Regions from separate parts of the Homo sapiens genome. Here region 1 is linked to region 2. The links are contacts of gene promoters, found by promoter capture Hi-C in human tissues and cell types (Jung and others, 2019). All regions are on one chromosome and are shown on one strand. The core of a region is centred on a gene start or on the middle of the fragment in contact, and the rest is flanking DNA. Distances in the headings are between cores, read along the strand shown. Region 1 has its middle 630 kb from the start of CDH8-AS1. Region 2 holds the start of CDH8 (cadherin 8).

The links. The method cuts DNA at HindIII sites, captures the fragments that hold promoters and counts their contacts. A contact is called where the count stands out against the background at its distance.
Region 1: a contact is called between a fragment that was not itself captured here and the fragment with the promoter of CDH8 in region 2, in 1 of the 25 tissues and cell types used here (lymphoblastoid cells).

The regions. Positions count from the first base shown.
Region 1 is chr16:61,290,598-61,293,735 of GRCh38, reverse strand. No RefSeq gene overlaps it. Among named protein-coding and RNA genes, the nearest start is that of CDH8-AS1, 630 kb to the left of the region's middle. The HindIII fragment of the contact is 7,798 bases long and covers 1-3,138 here.
Region 2 is chr16:62,034,527-62,038,019 of GRCh38, reverse strand. It overlaps CDH8 (cadherin 8), which reads left to right and starts at 1,582. Exons shown (of 12, transcript NM_001796.5): 1 at 1,582-1,940. It overlaps LOC124903777 (a long non-coding RNA gene), which reads right to left and starts at 1,430. Exons shown (of 2, transcript XR_007065217.1): 1 at 1,243-1,430; 2 at 587-807. RefSeq lists an enhancer at 3,280-3,493. The HindIII fragment of the contact is 11,196 bases long and covers 1-3,493 here.

The DNA.
Region 1 (3,138 bases), core at 541-3,040, 740 kb after region 2:
CATTTGCAAAATGTGGGTACATATATCTATAAAATGGGCTAAATATAAATTTGTAATAAACAATAGCACCTAAAAATACCTGTGGTCCTCAAAAGGAAGCATCAGTGGAATATACCGTTGTTTTGAGAATAACCATGATACAGCAATTTGTCAGTAACATAATTAAATCACATGCAAAGCCAGAGACAACAGAGAAGTAATTACAATCCTAACATAATGGAGTCATTACTCTCATATCTAAACACACTTTAAAGAAATTAGGCAGTTTCTGACACACTCATAACAGAAAACTCAAAAGAAGAAACATCACAGAATGAATTAGACCAGAATAACTTTTTTCTACAACTCCATGACATTTAGCTTTTTATAGCTGTATTTGCTATGAAAATGTTTGTATTCAAATGTATAGGTTGCTAATTTGCAAGCTATAGAAAGAGAACTTTTTTTTTCTATTTTTGTATCTCTAATTTCTAGCATACAGTAGATGCCCAATAAATATCTGTTCAGTAAATGTATTATGGGGATATGTTTTTATTGAGATAAAACAATATAAGTTGTAAATAGTTCTTGAGAATAAGCATGAATTATAGGCTAATGGGTTTTAAAACTTTCAACAATTCCCTATTGCTTATTAAGTGAAGTCTGTGAAAGGATGTCTTGTGACTAGAGATGTATTTTAAGGAGAGTACACTAGTTCCAATGTGCAAAATGAATGACGAGAATGACAGTCTGAGCTACAGTGACCACTGACGAGTCTATTAGAATACCACAGCTGAAATGTATTGCAGGCCCGAATTACAGCAGTGATGGTGGAATAAGAATGATATCATTAAGGTAGAATAGGTAGGACTTGGCTACTGATTAAACATAGTAATGTTATAGACGGTGAGTCTGTTTTTGAGCTCCAGTGATCCTGAGGCTCTTGGGCCATTAAAGAAAAATGGAAGCAGAAGGAAAGTTAAGAATAGTTCTGGGGAGATAAAATTCTTTTTATTCTCGACATATATTCTGAATGACTTCTAGGCATTGCATATATATGCCTTGTTAATGCATGGTGCTATATTCCTTAAATAAAAATGATGTAATTTTGACTAATTTTCTTTTATTTTATCTGCAGTGAAGGCTGAGAATAATTATTTAGCTTCCATCTTATCCTCTCAAAAGTGTTTTCAAGTCAGCCCTTAATATTCTTTTCAGGTATTGTGTTACAAGATTTTGGGGCATAGAAGTGGTCACTTACATCTTGTTCACAGAATGCCATTATCACAGTTAATTCATAAACCCAGACCCTCTTTCAGATAGACACTTATGCAACTCTTCTTGAAAATCTTCATTTTATTCATTTGAGATGGAGGTGGGGGTGGGGGGACAGTGCAATACTGTCTATTGGATCTTCTCAGACTCAAATCATCCCTTCCTCACATAAGCTATTACTTTCCTAATTAAGGCAATACCACCTATCATATTCCCCTCTCTCAAAGCCCTTGCCACAATTGATAATTAAATTCTACATATATAATAATTCCAGTAAAGTATTTCTCCACCAGACTGTACCTTCATGAGATCATATCTGTTTTCACTCAATATTATATTTATGTTGCCCAGTGTAAGCACTGGCAAATAAAAAATGCCCAATAAATATGCAATGAATGAGTGAGAGAGGCTGGAAAATTAATCTCACTGTGGAAGAAAATTCTGAATCTGAAATACATGATTCTACTGTTCCATTTAACTCTAGGAAACTGATTTGTTTCCCTATCAGAATGTTTTGGGAAATTCAGTTTTCAGAATCAGGCTTTTGAATGAGAAAAATGTATATTACAGGAATCTCATACCCACACACACACACAGACACACACATACACACACACACACGCACACTATTTCAATAATAATATGACCTTAGAGGAAACAATATAAAACAGATAAAGAAAGGCTTTAAACATCTTAACTTCTTAACTGTGTCTTAGATCTGTTGGCAAGCTTCACAGGAATATGGAATAAATTGTTGATCTACTTATATGCATGAGATAGTTTGTTACAAACATTTATTTTTAGAGATTGTTATTTTCTAACTGCACAATAAATTACTGCTATTTGCATAATAGAATTGTTTGCTTCTTTGGTTTTCTATTCAGATTGCGATTTATTAATATTTAGTCATACTTGAGATGGATACTTTGTCATTCCATATGTTAAGTGTAAAGTATATATTCCTATTATACATTTCATTTTTCATTATTCCCAGGCAATAGATAACACATTATGCCTCTGTCCTTCAGAAAATTTTGAGGCTGGAGCTTAAATGCAAAAGTCAATAAAACAGTTCTGGAAATCTGGGTTGAAAAAATACGTGTCCTTCATAGCTTCAATGTGGCCCCTATGCAATATCTGACATAGCTAATAAATGTTTAATGGATAGACCTTCAATGAGAGGCCAAGAAATAAAAGTTACTTTTAATTTCAAGCATCTTTATAAGATTAGTAGAATAAGTACCTTATTTAACATTTTTACTGGTAAATTTACATAACTATTTTATGCTCAGTAAAGGGGTATTATTTAATGCATTTATTTAATTGAAATTAGGAAATTTTTAAGTCTTGAATTTTCTAGACACTGTGTTGAGCACAAAACTTTTTTGGAATTTAGAATTATTGTGGTTTATAGTCCCAAACTTAAGTGGATGAACATGAAAATCTCTTACTTTGAGTTCTGTGGCTTTCGCATCATTTTTTTCTCATTTTTTCTGCAAACCAAAATAATAACAAAAAAATGGAAAAGAACTTTGATACACTTAAGTATTCTTTTCAAGAAAACATGTAGATTGAAAAAGTATATCTTCAAGTGTATTCTTGCTTATATTAAATGGTGACACATATATATTGGATGCTAAACTGCAAAAAGTCTATAGAATTTCTTAGAACGCTAGAGTGAAAATCAACTGCAAGTCTTCAGAAAGAAAAGAATATTTATCAGGCTCCTCTGAAGGCTGGCAGCTCCTTCATCAAGGGATTTCTTTAGATGTTGGACAGAGTCAACACTGTTATGTAGGCCACCGTAAGTCTCAGCAGGGAACAGGAAGAACATTAAATCTCTGTTTCGCTTCTATTGGTATTTCTCCTCTTGATTCCAGGGTC
Region 2 (3,493 bases), core at 333-2,832:
TCTTTGTCCACTTGGGACTGTCTGGTCTAGCAGCAGTTATAATTTGATTGAGCCTTGACTGCTGCTCCTTTTTCCAAGACAGAATTAGCCAATTCCAATACCCTGTAAGCAGACACAGTCTGAGAAGAGAACAAACAGTTACTTAGTGACTGCCTGGGGGAAAAAAAATACCACTTGGTTCTCTTCACCTCTCCCTCTCTGAAATAATCCACTAAGTTTCTTGCCTATGACAGCTAGAACATGAAACAATCAGATATTAGAGCTACAGCCAATACTCTTTTTCACATTTCACAATGGGTTGTCAGATGCAGCACACAAAAAAATGTCAAATTTGCATAAATATCATAAGCATGTTGTGCCTATTTTCTCATTCTGTTCACTCTTTCTCATTAATTTGAGTGAGACAGTACAAGCTCTACAGACTGTGCGTCTTGTCCCCTGCACCTTTTTCCCCCTTCTGTTCTTGCTCTGTCCCCAGATGGTAAAATCCACCCTCAGGCTCACGTCTAGTGCACACAGGGAAGGGACTAAATCGGGATCTCCTGTGGAGGGGAGGGTTTTTTTTTTTAAGGTAAGAATTTATTTGTCTTATATTTATCTAATTTTATTAGAAGATGATGACTGTGGCATCGTCTACATGTTAGCCCCAGTGTTGAAAAAGAAAAGAAATCTGGACCTCCTGATTCATGGTCCCTTTTACCCCAGGGTGGCCATTTCTCAAGATCTGAGCGCAGCCCATCAGAAGACTTGAAGTGACCACAGACAGGGCAGGTCTTGGTGGAGGCAGGAGAACCGCAAGGATGGTATCTGAGAGGATATGACAAGATCAGGGCACATTGAGAAGACCTAGAAATTCCTCCCCTATTTCCCAAGCAAGTTCTGCTTTGCCTGCCCTCCTCCCCACAACCAACTACTGCGCGCCCCTCCTGGCTGCCACTCTGCTGTCCCTCATCCCATTTTCCCAAAGGAGCACGGGGACATCAGGAATGCGCTCCATCACAGAACCGCGACACACAGCCTCTACATAGCGTCTGAGTTGCAGGCAGGGGTCTCACAATCACCCTATTCTGTACGCAAGAGGCCCTTGGAATAAAGAGGAGGTAAGCTGCCCACGCTCAACCCTTTGCCCTGTCGCGTCCTCTTCCTCCTACGGAAAATAGCTGCGGGTCACTGAGACGCTTTTCAACATAACGCCAGCCCCAGAGCTCAGGTGAGACCTCTAGAGAGAAAGCTCGCAGGTACCTCATCCGCATGCTGTTATTATCTGCCAGCCCACTTATCCAGGAGCTCGGTCCTCAGCGGGCTGCGCGCACCGCGCGGAAGGGCGCATCTTCACCTCGTGGCTCTGGCGGCAGAGACGCGCGGGGCTTGCTCGGGAGCGAGGAGCGAAAAGTTGTGCGCCCACTTGGGTAGGGGGAAAGAGAGCGATCGAGCCAGCGCGGGAGAGCGAAGGGGGAAGGCGGGGAGGGGGCGGGGAGGGGGGACTGCTTACATGAATTTCCAAGTGGTAGACCTGCCTCTGCGCTCTGCCCAATGAGATCCGTCAGGGGAGGCACCCGGCTCACTTTTCCACATCACTTCACAGTTACATTTGGCAGGCAGGCGGGCTCGCACGCCGGAGCGCTCAGCCCAGAATTAGTGGATTTATTTGGAATCTCCCTGCCTCCTCCAAGCTCCGCCGCCGCCGCCGGCTTGTGCATAGACGGTAGCGTCAAGACACCAGCTGCACTTTGGGTTGCGGACACCCAGAGCCCAGCGCGCCCGCCCTGCGTCTCCGCACCAAGCCCTGTAGCTCCGAGAGGCATGAACGGAATCCGGAGGCGCCTGCCTAGCGAGCGAGGACCGGTCGGCGCTTGCCGCCCTCGGGAGCTAACCCCGAGCACCTCCAGCCATTTGTGAACCTGGAGGCTTGACATTCGCCAGCGCAGGGCCCCACAAGAGTAAGTGTTCCCCTAACCCACCCCCGTTTTCCTCTATGTTCCGACTATCCAGAAGGGACCGTTTCTTATAGGAATTCCCATGCCCCTTCGGACACCTTGCGCGCCTCCTGCCCCTCAGATGGTGGATGAGGGTTCTTAGCATAGGCTCTGGGCTAAGCTGTGTCTTTCGCGATATCCGTGGGTGATAACGTACGTACGCCTCAAGGTTTTGCCTGACTGTTTTTGCAAACTGCTTTGACAACAGATCCTAGAGAGTAGCAAGCTCCAGGCTGTGCCCCTCCAGTTTTCCTGCCGGTTTCCTTCCCTGCGGCGACTTGGCTATTTCGCCGCTTCCCAACGCAGGCAGGCGCGGCTGCAGCCGCGCGCCTTCACTGCGGGGTCCGTGCGGTGAATGGGAAGCACCTGCAGCCCGCTGTGCGGAGGGTGCAAGCCAGGGAAAAAAGGAGGCGAGGGGGCCCGAGTGGTCTATGGCTGGTTTTCTGCACCGCCTCATCTCCGAGGCGAGGGAGGGCGACCCCCGCGGCAGGGCTGCGGGCCAAGGCTCAGCTGCGAAAGCCCCAGCGCGAGGCTTTCCCACAAGTGGCAGCTCCAGCTCTGGGAGGTGCGGTGCCCGCTACAAACTTGCCGGGCTCCGGAGTCGCCCTGCGGCTCTGCCCTCGCCAAGACGCTGCCCAGCACCCCTGCAGGACCCCCAGGCAGTGTCTCCCCGCAACTCGAGATTGCGTGCACGGAGGCCCCCTTAAGCCGGGGACTCCGTAGCCGCTCTCCTAGGGACAGCTGAGCCCAGACCTGCGCTTTCTGTGGTCTGGCCGCTTCTCATCCGGGAACCTTTGAGGGGCTGGTCGCGCCCCTCGCAGGATCGGAGGGAAAAAGGCTCTTGCCTAGGTTCTGCCAGTACGTAAGAGGTTCATAAGGGACCTACTCCGGTTCTCCCAGGATCCAGCCAAGGCTGGGAAACGGTAAAAAAACGTGCTGCCGCCAACGCTGATGCCAACAGGTATCCACAATTTCCTCCGCTTATTCCTCCCAAACACCAGAGCCTTCCCCCACCCAGTCTGGCAGAATCCTCAAAGTTTCCTTGCGGTTGACCCTTCCCCCGCAGGCACGGAGCCGGCGGCATGTCAAGGACTAGCCGTTTGCCTCCACCAGCGGAGATGGCAGCTGTTTGCTTGGGTTGCTAAATGTAAGAAATCAAACCACATTAATTGTTTATTGTTGCAAACGCACAATATTAGTCCGTAATGGAAAATCGGGCTGGCAGCTGCTCACTTCAGCACCAATTAAACGATAGAGCTTATCACCAAGACAGCGGGAGGGAGGAAAGGTCCTTTCAACTTTACCACCCTTTCCTGAAGATTCCACAAGAGTTTCCTCCTTAGGAGGCATGATTCGACAATCCCTTAGCGCGCCCGAGCTGCTAATCAGATCAGCTGCTTTCTTTCACCTGGCGTCATGATATCTGGGGGCTGACAATGGGAACGAGGGGACGCTAGGGAAGGTAAGCGAGAGTACTGTCCTCTCGCATCCGGTACCATCGCAAAGCAGATCCGAGG